Linked DNA regions of Homo sapiens: region 1 is linked to region 2. The links are contacts of gene promoters, found by promoter capture Hi-C in blood cells and fetal thymus (Javierre and others, 2016). All regions are on one chromosome and are shown on one strand. The core of a region is centred on a gene start or on the middle of the fragment in contact, and the rest is flanking DNA. Distances in the headings are between cores, read along the strand shown. Region 1 holds the start of PAIP1 (poly(A) binding protein interacting protein 1). Region 2 holds the start of ANXA2R (annexin A2 receptor).

Region 1 (7,130 bases), core at 1,478-3,977, 520 kb after region 2:
CTGGGGCCCGATCGAAACCGTCCGACATGCTCCTCCTCCTCCGCCTCCTCCTCCAGGGGCCGCTGCCGCTGCGCTCGCGATAGGACGCGGGGGGAAGGCGCCGCGGGTCGGCTATAGCCGCCGCGCCTCACTCGGGCCTCATGGAGGAGGAGGGCGGCGGGCCCCGGCTCGGCTGCTCGGTGCTTCTGGCGGAGCGGACGGCAGCCCGAGCACCCGCCGCTCCAGAGCGCCCGCCCCGCTCGGCTACCCTCGGCTTTCCAGTTCTCCCCCAAAACCCGGCTCCCCGCCTTCGGCGCGGCAGGGGCGCAGGCGGGTCACAGCGGCCCCCTGCGGCCCGGAGGCCCGGGACGCGCCCGCGAGGATCCTCCAGTTCGCGGCTGGCCGGCCGCCGGGCCCAGCAGGCCGCCCGCCGAGTGGCGTCTTGGCCACCTGCCGGCCCGCAGCCAGGCTCGGGCAGGGGCATCTCGGTTCCGGGGCCAGGCTGGGGGGGATGAGGGATGAGGGGTGAGGGGGACGCTTACCACAGGCAGGCCCGACCTACTCGGTAGTTCTCAGGAGAGACGTGCGAGACCGACAGTTGACGCCCGGGAAATAAAAACACGGGGGGAGGGGGCGTGGACCCTGCGCCAGGGTTCGCTGGCGCACAGGTGTGTTCAATGACTCGGCTCCGGCCGAGACCCGCGGACTGCTGAGGAGTGGTCCCTGGGAGACTGTCACCTGCTCCGTTAGCATCGGGGGAAGGGAGTAGAAACGGAATCAAAATATGTGTCCCCTCTTTAATTCACCCTAGGTGTTTACCACAGTAGGTCACACCTACGTTTAACAAGCTTCGTTCTCTTCCCGTTAACCTTCCCCTCCAGAAATTTCAAGAAAATGTGCTACCTTTCAGTGTAACTCTGCCCTCTTTTTCATCTTGCATCAGTGCTGTCCAATGAAAATATAATGCGAGCCACAAATGCAAGCCACTTATGTAATTTTACATTTTGGAGAAGCCACATTAAATGAGTGAAAAGAAACAGGTGTGGCCAGGCGCAGTGGCTCACGCCTGTAATCCCAGCACTTTGGGAGGCCGAGGGGGGCGGATCACCTGAGGTCGGGAGTTCGAGACCAGCCAGACCAACATGGAGAAACCCCGTCTCTACTAAAAATACAAAGTTAGCCGGGCGTGGTGGCACATGCCTGTAATCCTAGCTATTCTGGAGGCTGAGGCAGGAGAATCGCTTGAACGCAGGAGGCAGAGGTTGCAGTGAGCCGAGATCGTACCGTTGCACTCCAGCCTGGGCAACAAGAGCCAAACTCTGTCTCAAAAAACAAAACAAAACAAAACAAAAACCAGGTGAAATTAATTTAAATTTATTTAATCCATTATGTTCAAAATGGTTTTTTAACATGCGATTTAAAATATTAAATATTTTCTCTGTTTTTTAGATACTAGTTGAAATCCAGTGTATATTTTACACTTATGGCACATCTTAGTCGGGATTGGCACATTTCAAGGGCTCAAGAGCCACATGTGGCTAGTGGCTACTGCGTTGCACAGCACAATTCTAGATTTTATTAATATGTAAATTGTTGTTTTTGTCAGGCCTGACAGTATTAATGCCAAATAAAGGATAGATGAATATAAGTAACGACAAGGAAGGAAAAATTGATTTCTTTACTGTTGGATTGATCCATCTCCATAAATTCTGATTTTAGCCTTTTGTTTTAAGCAGGGTTTCATGTTTTTCTATCTTTTCATCTTAAGAATCATTTCAATTAGGGACACAAACTCTTGTTAACCGTTTTCTCTTCTCATTAATAAAGAAAACAATGTCTTCCCCTAAACGAATGAGAAAATGGCTTCACCGAGGGCAATCATGAATAAATGGTTCATGCTATTGATGTTAGGCAAAATAATGAAGTCAGGGAAGGAAGCCAGCAGTACGTGTGGCTCTTCGGTGTACGGAAAGTTTAGGATTCAGTCTGCCAGAGCTTAGTTGGGATTCCACTCTTGACTATTGCTGTCTGTGTGATTTTGAGTAAGTAAGGGGTTTAGCTTCTCTGAGCCTCACTTTCCTCATCTGTAAAATAATAACTGTGTGGTAACACTCAGCATATATTGCAGAGACAAGATTACAATTTAAAAATTACAATTTTAATATTTTCAAATTCATTATTGTATGTGGTCACCAGTCACTTCTTGCCTGGACTTTTTTATCATACAGGAAAGACCCATAAACTATGCTAAAAAACTAACAATGAGTTATGTTCCACTGAAGTAGATGCCCCAACTCTGCCCCAAGCTTTTGTTTGCACTCACCACCTTTTCATTTCCCCTTAAAACTTTTATGATGAACAGCACCTTTTCTAACAACTGGGACTTTCCCATGTGAAGATAAGGCCATTCTGCATCCATGGTGATGTCACGACATCTTCACACCCTCTTGTTAGGAAAATTAGGTAAGATATCCTTTGCCTTCTCTGTATTTGTTACTGTATAACTTTTGCCCTATTCTTATAATGTGTGGATGGTGGACTTGGAGATAACACGAATGGATTTTGCATCATGATAATAAAAATATCTAATATTTATTATGCGTCAGTCACCTTTTAAGAGCTTTTATTTTATCATTTTATTTTATCCTCATATCCTGTGAGATAGACATTCCAATATTTTCACTTTACATAAAAGGTGCCAAGATACCGCAAGGGCTCAGATCCATCTTGGGACTGTTTTAGAGCTAACTGGCAGGTATTGCAAAATGCATAGACAGAAACACATGAACGTGTGAACACCATGTGGAACTCCCTAAAGAGAATCATCAAAGTGCTCCTCATCCACGTGTATGCCTTTTTTATTAATTTATGGTGAAAGGAGAGTAGAACTAAATTTGGACAAATTGGAAAATATGTTGTAATATGGAAAAGGACCTGCTGTGAACTATGAAAAAAATGTTTCCTTAAACTGTACTTGAAAGGCATTCTCCAGTAAGACTTCCCAAGCTGCCTAATCTTAGATTCTCTCCCTTGTGATAAGTATACCCTGGGAAAACTGTCTTGGTACTTAGCATGCCAGATTGTTATCGTTAGTATTTGGTTTATTTAAATGTCTCCTTCCCTAAACTAGCCCTCTGAAGACAGAGGATGCCTTTTAATCCTTTAGGTCCAACCCAGTACTTAGTCCATAATAAGCTTTTAACAGAAATAGGACTCACCTGCAATGGTCCTGCCTTTCCTTAGGTCACCAGTCTAGTGATGGTAAAAAAAAAAAAAAAAAAAAAAAGACTGTTTTTTTAGAACTTATTGACCTCAGGATCATCATTAGACCTTATGGGAGTAGACAGTACAGCCTTCAAGGCCAGCTAACAGGAGAAAATTTTCATAAATATGCAAGAGGAAATATTTGCAAACCACATGGTATAGTTTGTATATTTGACCCTCCAAGCCTCCTGTTGAAACTTGATCCTGAATGTTGGAGGTGGGGCCTAATGGAAGGCGTTTGGGTCATGGTGGCAGATTCCTCATGAATGGCATGGTGCCATTCTCACAGTAACGAATGAGTTATGGTTTTACTAGTTCCCAAGGAGTTTCCCCAAGAGCTGGTTGTTGAAAAGAGCCTGGCACACTCCCCCTGTCTCATGCTTCCTCTCTTGCCATGTAATCTCTGCACACTGTCTCCCCTTCACTTTCTGCCATGCATAGAAGCAGGCTGAAGCCCTCACCAGAAGCAGATGTTGGTGCCATGCTTCTAGTACAGCCTGCAGAATAGTGAGCCAAATGAAACCCTTTTCTTTATAAATTACCCAGCCTCAGCTATTCCTTTATAGCAACAAAAATGGATGAAGGCACCACATATTTGACAAAAGACTTGTATCTAGAATATATAAAGTACTCTCAGAACTCAACTGTATTGAGAGTACTATAGCCAGGTGCGATCCCAGCACTATGGGAGGCTGAGGCGGACAGATTACCTGAGGTCAGGAGTTCGAGACCAACCTGGACAACATGTGAAACCCCGTCTCTACTAAAAATACAAAAATTAGCAGGCATGGTGATGCGTGCTTGTAATCCCAGCTACTTGGGAGGCTGAGGCAGGGGAATCGCTTGAACCCGGGAGGCAGAGGTTGCAGTGAGCCGAGATTGCACCACTGCACTCCAGCCTGGGTTGAGCGTGACTCCGTCTGAAAAAAACCCAAACAAACAAAACACCTAACTCAACTGTAAAAGGACAGTTCAGTTAGAAAAGGGCCAAACATAAATGAAAGAACACTTCACTGAAGGGAATATACAGATAGCATAAGCCTATGAAAAATGTTCAACATAATTAGCCAGTAGGAAAATTTTTTTAAAACCACTGAGATTTCACTACCTACTTATTCGAATAGCTTAAATAAACAATAGTGACAATGCAAATTCAAGGATGTAGAGAAACTAGGAACTGTGTTGCTCATACATTGCTGGTGAGAATGTAAAATGCTATAGTCACTTTAGAAAACAGTTTCTTTAAAAAACTCTACATATTAAGTACTGTACTACCTAGCAATTGCACTGCTGGACATTTCTCACAGAGAATTAAGATTTATATTCACATAAAATCCTGTACCCAAATATTTAGAGTGGCATCATTAATAAGAGCCCCAAATTAGAAAGAACCCAAATATCCTTTGATGAATAGTTAAACTGTGGTACATTCATACCACAGAATGCTACTCAGCAAAAAAAAGGAACAACTGCTCATATAAGAATGTTGATGGATCTCAAGGGAATTATGCTGAACACAAAATTTCAATCTCAAGAGCAATTGTATGATTCAATTTATGACAAAATTATGAAGATGGAGAGCAGATTTGTGGTTGCCAGGGGTTAAGGAGGGAGTGGAATTTAGAGGCAAGTAGATGGGGTTATTAAAAAAGTAGGTAGCATGAGAAAAACCTTGTGATGGAACTATTTTGTTCTTTACTATAATGATGGTCACATAAGTCTATACATGTGATAACATTGCATAGAAATAAGTGTGCACACATACACACACATACACACATGTGCATATAAAACTAAGGTTGGTGAACTGTATCACTTATAGTTATACAAGATGTTACTATTGGGGGAAACAAGGTGAAGAGTAAACAAGTTCTCTCTGTATTATTTCTTACAATTGCATGTGAATCTACAACTAAGTTTTAGAAACCTAACATATAAATAAACTTCGTTCCATGTTATTCCATCACTCCTAATTCTCTCCTAGCTAGTTCAGTTCACTCCTTTCTGCACAAATCATCATGGCAACTTACATATCATTATAAATGAGTGGGGGCATCATTAAGAGAGAAAAAAATTAGCTGATGCATTTGTCCTTGTGTTTCTCATCTGTGTAAATTATCTTCCTCTGGCCACTATTAAAAGTAACCCCAGGCAGTCAGCTCTTGAGACTCCCATCTGGATTAGGGCCCCAATTCATCTTAGAGTCTAAGATAGCCAGGAATGCTGCTTGGAATCTCCTCAATATCTACTGATACTTGTTTAACGTTGATCTCTTAGCTGTACTGTAAATTCCACGAGGCTAATGAAAGAAACCAAAATATTTCACCTTGACATAGTTCAAGATGGTTATTTGGATGGGCTGAAAATATAAGAGTAGCTAAAAACCTGCCTTTTTTGGGGAAGATTGGATCTGTAGAGACAACTTGCATTGATGCAGTGAGGCTTTCTCTGAGACCCTCACTTGTCCCATCTAGGAAAGATTAACTGAGACTCTGATACCTTTAAAGGTTTATAAACATTCTCTCTGAGGACTGCTACCTGTGAGATTTCATCTACATAATAAGACCACCTTTGCTAGCCAGTTCTCCTCTTCTCTCTCTCTCTCCCCTACCGTGTCTTGCTACTATAACCGATTTAACACCATAATCTGTTTTTGGCTATGTGCTGGGATTCCTCTCTTTCTGTAACTTCAAGATAGTAAGTATATCAGCTTCTGTACCCCATTTGGGTAATTACTTTCTGAGTCTCCTCTGAGCATAGTCATTTCTTTTTTTTTTTTTTTTGAGACGGAGTCTCGCTGTGTCACCCAGGCTAGAGTGCAATGGCATGATTTCGGTTCACTGCGACCTCCGCCTCCCTGGGTTCAGTGATTCTCCTGCCTCAGCCTCCCAAGTGGCTGGGATTACAGGCACACGTCACCACGCCCGGCTAATTTTTGTATTTTTAGTATAAACGGGGTTTCACCATATTGGCCAGGCTGGTCTCGAACTCCTGACCTTGTGATCCACCTGCCTCGGCCTCCCAAAGTGCTGGGATTACAGGCGTGAGCCACCGTGCCCGGCCTCACAGTCATTTCTTTTAATATATCTTTTGTCAGTTGATTTTTCAGTAAAACTTTAGAGAGCAAAGGGGAAGTTATTCTTTGGCCCCCGCAATAGGAATTCATTCATTCACTTGTTAATTCAACAAATACTGATTTTGTGTCTACTTCATGCCAGCAGTGTTCCAGGTGCTGAGGATATGCAGGGGTGTGAGATTAGTAGGTTTGAGGCATATGAGACATGAAGCAGGGAAACAAGTTCGGTGGCTATTGCAGACGTTCTGGTGATAAATGATGGTGTCTAGTAAGGTGGTGCTAGTGGGTTTGGAGGGAAAGGCCACACTGAAGAGATGTTGAGGAAGAAGTTGACAGATTGTGTGTGAGGCATTAGTGAGAGGCCAGAGATCAGGGTGAGTTCCAGGATTCTGGCTTTGGTGCCTCAGCCTGTAAGATGGAAAATACCAAAAGGAAACAGATTTAGGGATAGACGCCAAGGAAAATTTCTGCTTTGGCCTCTGAAGTTTCACTGAAAAATTTGCTGACAAAAGGCAGACTAATTGGAGAAAAGACATACAAATTTCTTAACATGTACATGGGGGAGAACCATAGAGTGATCACTCCAACCCCTAATGGGGTTCAGAAGCTTATATACCATATTGAGGTGACAGGAAGAATGGGGGCTTAGATTGTGACAAAACAGGTTACAATGACAAAACAGGTTATGGGAGACAGAGATAAGAGGAAGCCTGGCTAGCAAAGGTGGTCTCGTTATATAGATGAAACCTAATAGGTAGCAGACCTCAGAGAGGCTAGATGGTGAATAATTTTTCAGAACTTTAAAGTCATC
Region 2 (7,386 bases), core at 4,860-7,359:
AGGAGCCCTCGGGAGAGCAGGAGGCTGCATAGGGTCTCAACGTACTCCCGTCCCCGCAGCCTCCCTCGCAACTCGCCCCTCGCTCGGTAGGCAGACAACTCCAGCCGGACAGGTCCGTCCGAGGAGACCTTTCAGAGTGTCAGCCTACTGCTGACCTCGGAGCCACCAACCAAAGTTCCAAGACTGCTGGCTGCAGATTGCATGCTCTTGGGGCAGACGCCCTAAGAATGTGTCCACCGAGTCCAATGTGTCTTTGGAGTCCTGAGCCCTGAGATTTCCGCTAAGACCTTCCATTGGACGATCTCTTGTAACAGATGTTGTTACAGTAACACGTGAGTTCGCTCAAATGCGATGGAAGTTTTGCCTTTCGATCATTTTGTGCCTTTGTCTTTCCCCTTCTCAATAAAATCGTACACAAATGTGAAATTCTTGTTGCCTGTGTTCCTGTTGATGTTGGGTAAGGATGAGCCTCAGGGGCGGGGTGGCTGGTTGCTGGTGCCAGGACTATCACGGGGACCCTGAATCCCCTAGGTTTGCTGGTTGCAGGGCAAACAAAAAGTACAAGAAGTGTGTGTCTTATGCAGAGATTGGAGGGGAGAATAGGCCAGGGGTCGTGCATGGCTGGTGACTCACAGGCTGAGCCTACAGGAAATCCGGTGAACAGGCAGCAGACCTGAGAACTTACTGCAGGAAATTCTCCTGTTCTGAGGCCCTGGAACTTTTTCCCTCTGAAGGTTTGCACCTTTCTATCTTGAGGCCTTGTTAAACTCATAATTTCTGGAAGTTTTCTTCTAGACTCTTTAAGATTTTCTCCATAGGCTCATGTTCTGCATGTATGAATAGTTTCATTTTTTCACTTCCAATGTATATGCTTTCTTACTCCTTTTCTCACCTTATTGCACTGGCGAACAATTCCAGTACCTTGTTGAATAGAAATGGTTGGAGCGACTATCTTGGCCTTGTTCCTGATTTCATGAGAAAAGCATTGAGTCTGTCACTATTACATACAATGTTGCTACAGGTTTTTGTCGACGTTCTTTGCACGGTTGATGAAAATCCCTCTATTCCCACGTTGCTGAGAGTTAGTTTTTAAATTTTAAATCACGAATGCATATAGATTTTCTTAAATGCTTTTTGTGCATCATTTGACAGGATTATACAGTGTTTCTCATTGAGCCTACCAATAGGGTGAAATATACTGATTGACTTTTGAGTATTAAACCAGACTTATATATGGAATAAACCTTACTTGGGCATGGTATTGTTCTTTAACATACATTTCTGATTTCTATTTGTTAGTATTTTGGTGAGGATTTCTGCATCTATGTTTAGGTGCAATCTTGGTCAGTAGTTTTCTCTTAGTGTCCTCGGTTTGCCAGGAAAATGCTGATCTCATAAAATAAGTTGGGAAGTATTCCATATTCTTTTATTTTCTAGAATAAATTGTGTAGAATTTGTTATTTATTCTTTGAATATTAGGTAAAATTAGTCAGTGAAATGGTAAGAACCTCTAGGTTTTTTGTTTTTGTTTTTGTTTTTTTTTTGGAAGATTTTTGACCATGAATTCAATATCTTTAATAATTGCAAAAATTTACAGATTATTTTTCATGAGTTGGGTAGACTGGATCTCGCAGGATTGATGCATTTTATCTAATTTGTTGAAATTATGAGTACAGAGTTGTTGTTAGACCATTTTTAAAAGTTACCATTGTGGGCCAGGTGGGGTAGTTCATGACTGAAATTCTAGCACTTTGGGAGTCCAAGGTGGGCAGATCACTTGAGGCCAGGAGTTGGAGACCAGCCCCACCAACATAGCAAAACCCGGTTTCTACCAAAAATACAAGAAGATTAGCCGGGTGTGGTGGTGCATGCCTGTAATCCCAGCTACTCGGGAGGCTGAGTCACAAGAATTACTTGAACCCAGGAGGCAGAGGTTGCCGTGAGCCGAAATCGTGCCAATGCACTCCAGCCTGGGTTTCAATGGGAGATTGTATAAAAAAAAAAATAAAAAAATAAAAAAGTTACCACTGTGAATAGGTTGACCAACATAAAGACACTGCTAGGTAACAGTCTGCCTCTCTAGATCCGCTTAAGGCTCTTCAGTCAGCACTGCGCTGCAAGAAGCAACCTGTATGGACTGCACTGGAGAGCTACTTTTGCTCCCAGGCTTCTGATTGAGTTTAGACACTGAAAGACAACAGCTGTTCAGAGATATGGATTAGTAATTTATTACCTTGTTTTGTTTCACCTAGACCTCAGGGTACTGAAATATTTTATCTGAAGTAAAAAATAGGCTGGCTGTGGTGATTCACACCTGCAACCACAGCACTTTGGGAGGCCGAGGCAGGAGGATTACTTGAGGCCAGGAGTTCAAAACCATCTTGGGTAATAGAAAGATAAGCCATCTCCACACACACACATACATACACACACACACACACACACACACACACACACACAGTAGCCAGGCATGGTGGCACATACCTGTAGTCCCAGCTACTTATGAGGCTGAGAAGGGAGGACTGCATGACCCAGGATGGTTGAGGCTGCAGTGAGCTATGCTTGTGCCACTGCACTCCAGCCTGGGGGACACAGCCAGACCCTGTCTCAAAAAAAGTGAAAAAAAAAAAAAAGCCAAAAAATACTGTGGAGTGGCCCTTTCTTCAAGCATCTGCTTGCTTTCTCTAACACCACTCATTCTATTGCCCCTACTGAGCTTGAAATGATAATGCTTTCTTCAGGTGCCAGGTCTGGAGTGCTGGTGCACCTATCTCAAAACGCTGTCTCAAAACTCCAACAGGGAGCACCTAACGGTACTGGGTGCAACATTGCTAGCACGGAGCAAACAGCAGTCCAGTAACCTGGAACAACAGGCTCTGCGAAACCAAGGACTCTGACAAAGAAAAATTGCCAATTCCAAACATAGCCTGTTTTAGAGAAATGAATGGCGTTGTCATCGAAAAAACACAGACTCGATTGTGACAGAAATACCGCCACAAACGCAGGTACAGGGACAGCCGACACCGAGAACCAAGGGAAGCGGCTGAGAGCTGCGCCTCCACGGAATAACTGCCAGCCGGCACAGTGCGAGTGAGAAACCGGCCACTCCATGAAACGACCAGTACTGCCACGGAAAAGAATCCGACGTCGCCAACAAGCGGTGCTACCAGGAGAAACGCCTGCTTTTGAAGAAAACAGCCAGGAACGCGACTGAAAGACACTTGCTCCCAGGAAGAATTGGCATTTGTTCCAAAACACAGCTGGATAAACCGAGAACCTTCGGAGTGGTTGCACCGAAACGGGGTCACCCAGCACCTCAGCGTCCTGGGCTCTAGCAAGCCTCACAGAAGCAACCGGCAGTGCTAACACCGAGGAGCACCTAGAGCGGCAAAACTAGCAGTAATGCCATCGACGAAAGGCCAGTTAGGCCAAAAGAATAGAATATTTAGTTCCGGGAATTACAGGCCAGCGCAAACCAGACAGCATAAAGCTGAGGGTCAGCAAAACAAAAATTAGGAACAATTTTTTTTTAAAGGGCAAGTTAGCTGAAAAACACACGCACACACAATAAAAACAATACATTTGGGAAGATTCATCAAATGAAAATTCAAAACTAAGCAAAACATGGAAAAATGGACTCTACAAAGAAGAAAATGCAAACACTTCTAAACAATGTGGTTTCACAGAGGTAATATCGCTGTCAGGCCTATATCAGTATCTGCTCGGTCTCACCAGGACTTCTAACTAAGGGACTGCAGACACTGCTAAACCGCTACTTGCTACTCCTAAAATATCTTCTTCACCTACGTGCCCGGACTTCTATATTTAAAACTCAGGCATAAGTAAAGCAGGGTAAGTTATTATGAAACCGAAAGTTACTGGGACTAAGGAGTCGCAGGCATGGCTATGCTAGTACTGGTTGCGACCAAATATGGACTTGCAAGAGCTAAGAAATCACATTCACAGGGGCACTTAAAATCGAAGCATGCACTTGTTACTCTAAGAAATCCCTAACCCAGGACTCGCTCAGAATATTTCGAACGCAGAATTAAGCATCTTTATCGCAGGCGAAATAAGCCGATACTTATTCCGCTTAAGTCCGAACTTGCTATGCAGAGAAACCACAATCAGGGCTACATTCCGAGTGTAGGAGGTTTAAAACTCCCGAAAAGGCAGTCAAAGCAGGCAGGGCCAAGCCGGACCTGCTGTGCCTACCCGAATTGCTAAACCCAGTTGTGGTACCATTAAGTAACTGGTAGTTCTCTTATAAGCCAAGCTAAACTGTTCCAAAGAAAAAGACGCTGGAAACACTGCTAGCCCTGAGACCCATGAATAAGTAGTCTTTTCAATTATTTATTTATTTTGAGACAGGCTCTCGCTCTGCTGGAGGGCGTTGGTGCTATCCGGCTCACCGCAGCCTCGACCTCCTGAGCTCAAGCAACCCGCCCACCCCAGCCTCCGGAGCAGCTGGGACTACAGGTGCACACCATCTCACAGGGCTAACTTTTGCATTTTTTGTAGACACAGGCCTCACCCTGTCGCCCAGGCTTTTCTCAAACTCCTGAGCTCAAGCAATCCGCATGCCTCCGCTGCTGAAAGTGCTGGGATTACTGCCGTGAGCCACGCTGCCCCGCCAGAATAAGTAATCTTAAGAACTGGTCATCTGTGAAGTTGTATTAATATAAGTAATTGCGTGGTCCTTCCACGAGAAATAGCAAAGATTGATAAACCTCTCAGTCTTATGATCGTGAATAAAATTCCTGAGTGTAAAACAATGAATCGATATACTGAAAAAAAGAAAGACCGCTGTTAAAAATAAAATTAACAATTAAAATTAAAAAGACGTTATAATAACGTAAAAGACATGATATAAAATTAAATGTAAACAAACAATACATTTAAAAAGCAATAATTAGAAAAATAGTAGGAATAAGATTTTAAAATACAATGGAAAAAAACAAATTTTAAATTTGCCAAAAACTCTAAGAATTCTACAATCGTAAAATAGATTTCTCAAAGTGAAAACAGATACGAATGAAATATTTAATGAAATAAATACAAATATTTAAAATACAAGGAAACTGAAAGTAATAAGCGACGCGAAACAAGAAAGAAACATAAGGGAAAAAGAGAATTTAAAAACTGACAACCAGCAATGAAAGCACATCTTAATGTATTTTTATTTTCTAGGTGGAGACGTTTGGTAACTGAGAATCTTTTCAAGGAGGAGAATCCAAAAAGCCTTCTGCTGCTATCTAAGGCTGCTTAGCTCCACAGATCCGTGAACAGCACGCCCAGAGTACAGAGAACGCGGCAAAACCAACGCGAAGAATCCACTCCAGGCAGTCTGAGAAACCCGGGAGGTGGCGCCACGGCTGGAGGGCAGGAGGATGGCGGCGTTCCAAAAGGCACCCGCTGTCACAGACCTCGGTGTCCTGCTGTCTGTCCCAGGGATGGAGAGGACTGCTCCAGGGAAGCTGCTGGAGCCTGAGTCTGTCGGGTTCCTCTGCCTGCCCCACCTCTTCTACGGGTGCCTCTTGCTGCTTCTGTGTCCCCGGCCAACTGAACTCAGTGGGCTTCGCTGTACTTGGTTCCAAGGTGCTCTGGACTCCAGGAGAGAGTCCGTTTTGCCAGTAGACTCCGGGCAGCCGCCAGCAAGGGCTGGAAAGCAGTCCCAAATCACAGCTGTCCAGTGAGTACTCTCCTAGTACTGGATACAAAGGAAGAGGCCACGGCCCACGATCTTCTGAACTCACAATAGGTGGAGGCTGGGGCTCTGGCGCCACCTCTGCGGAATCCCAAGCCCGCTTCACACAGCCAAGAAAATGTTGCTCCATCCCTCAAGCCTCAGACCAACGTTTGCGCTGATCAAGGAGGGAGAGTCTCTGCACTACCATCAGCCTGAGTATTTATGCTCTGCAGAGCCCGTGGGCGGAGGCCAGTCAGATATTAAGAAACTCAGTAGTAACAAATGCACGAAAATTAGTAGACAAATGAAAAACGATAACATTTTAGAGAGTACATAGAACCAAAACGAACCGTAATTCCGACAGAAAAACATGGCGAGAAAAGAAACCGAAATGAAATGACACTAAGCAAATCTTGAAGAGAACTAGCGCTACAGAACGCAGGTATTCAAGAGCGCGCAAGGGCCAAGAACCACCCGTTTCCGGGAAATGAGCGTTGCTGCCACCGGAAAACTGTCTGCTAGGGCTCTGCCCTAACCACCTTGCAAACGAGAAACTGGCGCGTTGAACTTAGCAAGCGCCGGCACCTAGCGGATAGCGCTGGTATTGCCAAACAAATATCCGTTTTGGCGCCGTAAAGGGTGCTGCTAAAGAGAAACAGCATGCTCTTAGAACTAAGAGCGGTGCTTCCACACCTAAACAACCTGTTTGGAGGAATGAACCAACTCTGTTTCAATGTGTTGTACCAGAAAAATGTGTTGCGGCATTTAATGTGTTTTAATCCGTTCAATGTGTTTGATAGGTTTAATATGTTTTAACCCGTTTTAATGGGTTGTGACAGAAAAAGCGCCGGCTAATGGTACCACACAATTACTAGTGCGAACAGCGGCTCGGTGCAATCACCGTTCTGCACGGCAAAACGGGGTTCAGGAAGTTCCTAGGAGATACTAGCGGTTGTAGGAGCGAAAAAGTGACAGCACTGAGAACCTAAGGACCCCGCGAACGGGAAATGTCACGTTGGGTGCAGCAACTGAGAAAACGCCCAGTGGGCGCCACTGGCAAACGTGCTGATACAAAACCGCCAGCTCTGCATAGGAAGCGGAGCCTCCAGACAGAACCCGGAACCTGATACCAGCGAGGCTAAGACCGAGCTCGGCTCCCCGGCTCCTGAGAGAATGAAAGTCAAGAAGCACGAATCTGAGACGCTCAAAATTAGAAGAAAAAAAAAATACATAATTTAAAATAATGAAAGTCTGAAATGCAAGTAAAAATGAAAAACACATCGGTAACATTGTCCTCAGAGCAAGACACAAAAATAATTTTAAGGTAAGCAAAAGTTACAGAGAACCAACCCTACAAAGAAGAAATTACAAATATGGCTAAGCGATGCAATGCCTACCATTAGAATATTTCTGTCAGATCTAAACCCCTGCAGGTTGCTCCTGTCATAATTTCCTACGAGAAAAAAAACAAAAATATCCACGGTTAAACGTGTTTAGCTACGTCTAAAAAATCGTAGTAGCTGGTACATCCCGATTTGGTCTACAAGAGGAAAAAGTCTCGATGGGCAGGACTTGCTATTGTCAAAGGGAGCTTGGTAAAACTGAGACATCGCGATCGCCGGCATTTCCTGACTTCCACGGGAGTTTTAAAAACACACAAGCATAGCTAAGACAGGACTCGATATTGCGAAACCAAA

What was found. The method cuts DNA at HindIII sites, captures the fragments that hold promoters and counts their contacts. A CHiCAGO score of 5 or more calls a contact.
Region 1: a contact is called between a fragment that was not itself captured here and the fragment with the promoter of ANXA2R in region 2, in 1 of 17 cell types (naive CD4 T cells). The highest score is 5.1, in naive CD4 T cells.

The regions. Positions count from the first base shown.
Region 1 is chr5:43,556,819-43,563,948 of GRCh38, forward strand. PAIP1 (poly(A) binding protein interacting protein 1) reads right to left here and starts at 259. Exons shown (of 11, transcript NM_006451.5): 1 at 1-259. The coding sequence starts at 28. RefSeq lists a silencer at 1-554. The HindIII fragment of the contact is 889 bases long and covers 2,284-3,172 here.
Region 2 is chr5:43,034,210-43,041,595 of GRCh38, forward strand. ANXA2R (annexin A2 receptor) reads right to left here and starts at 6,110. Exons shown (of 1, transcript NM_001014279.3): 1 at 5,162-6,110. The coding sequence starts at 5,837. The coding sequence ends at 5,256. The region is part of intron 2 of ANXA2R-OT1 (ANXA2R overlapping transcript 1); the gene reads right to left. RefSeq lists enhancers at 1-43, 4,992-5,532, 5,224-5,273, 5,294-5,703, 5,714-5,763 and 1 more and a silencer at 6,104-6,373. The HindIII fragment of the contact is 14,499 bases long and covers 1-7,386 here.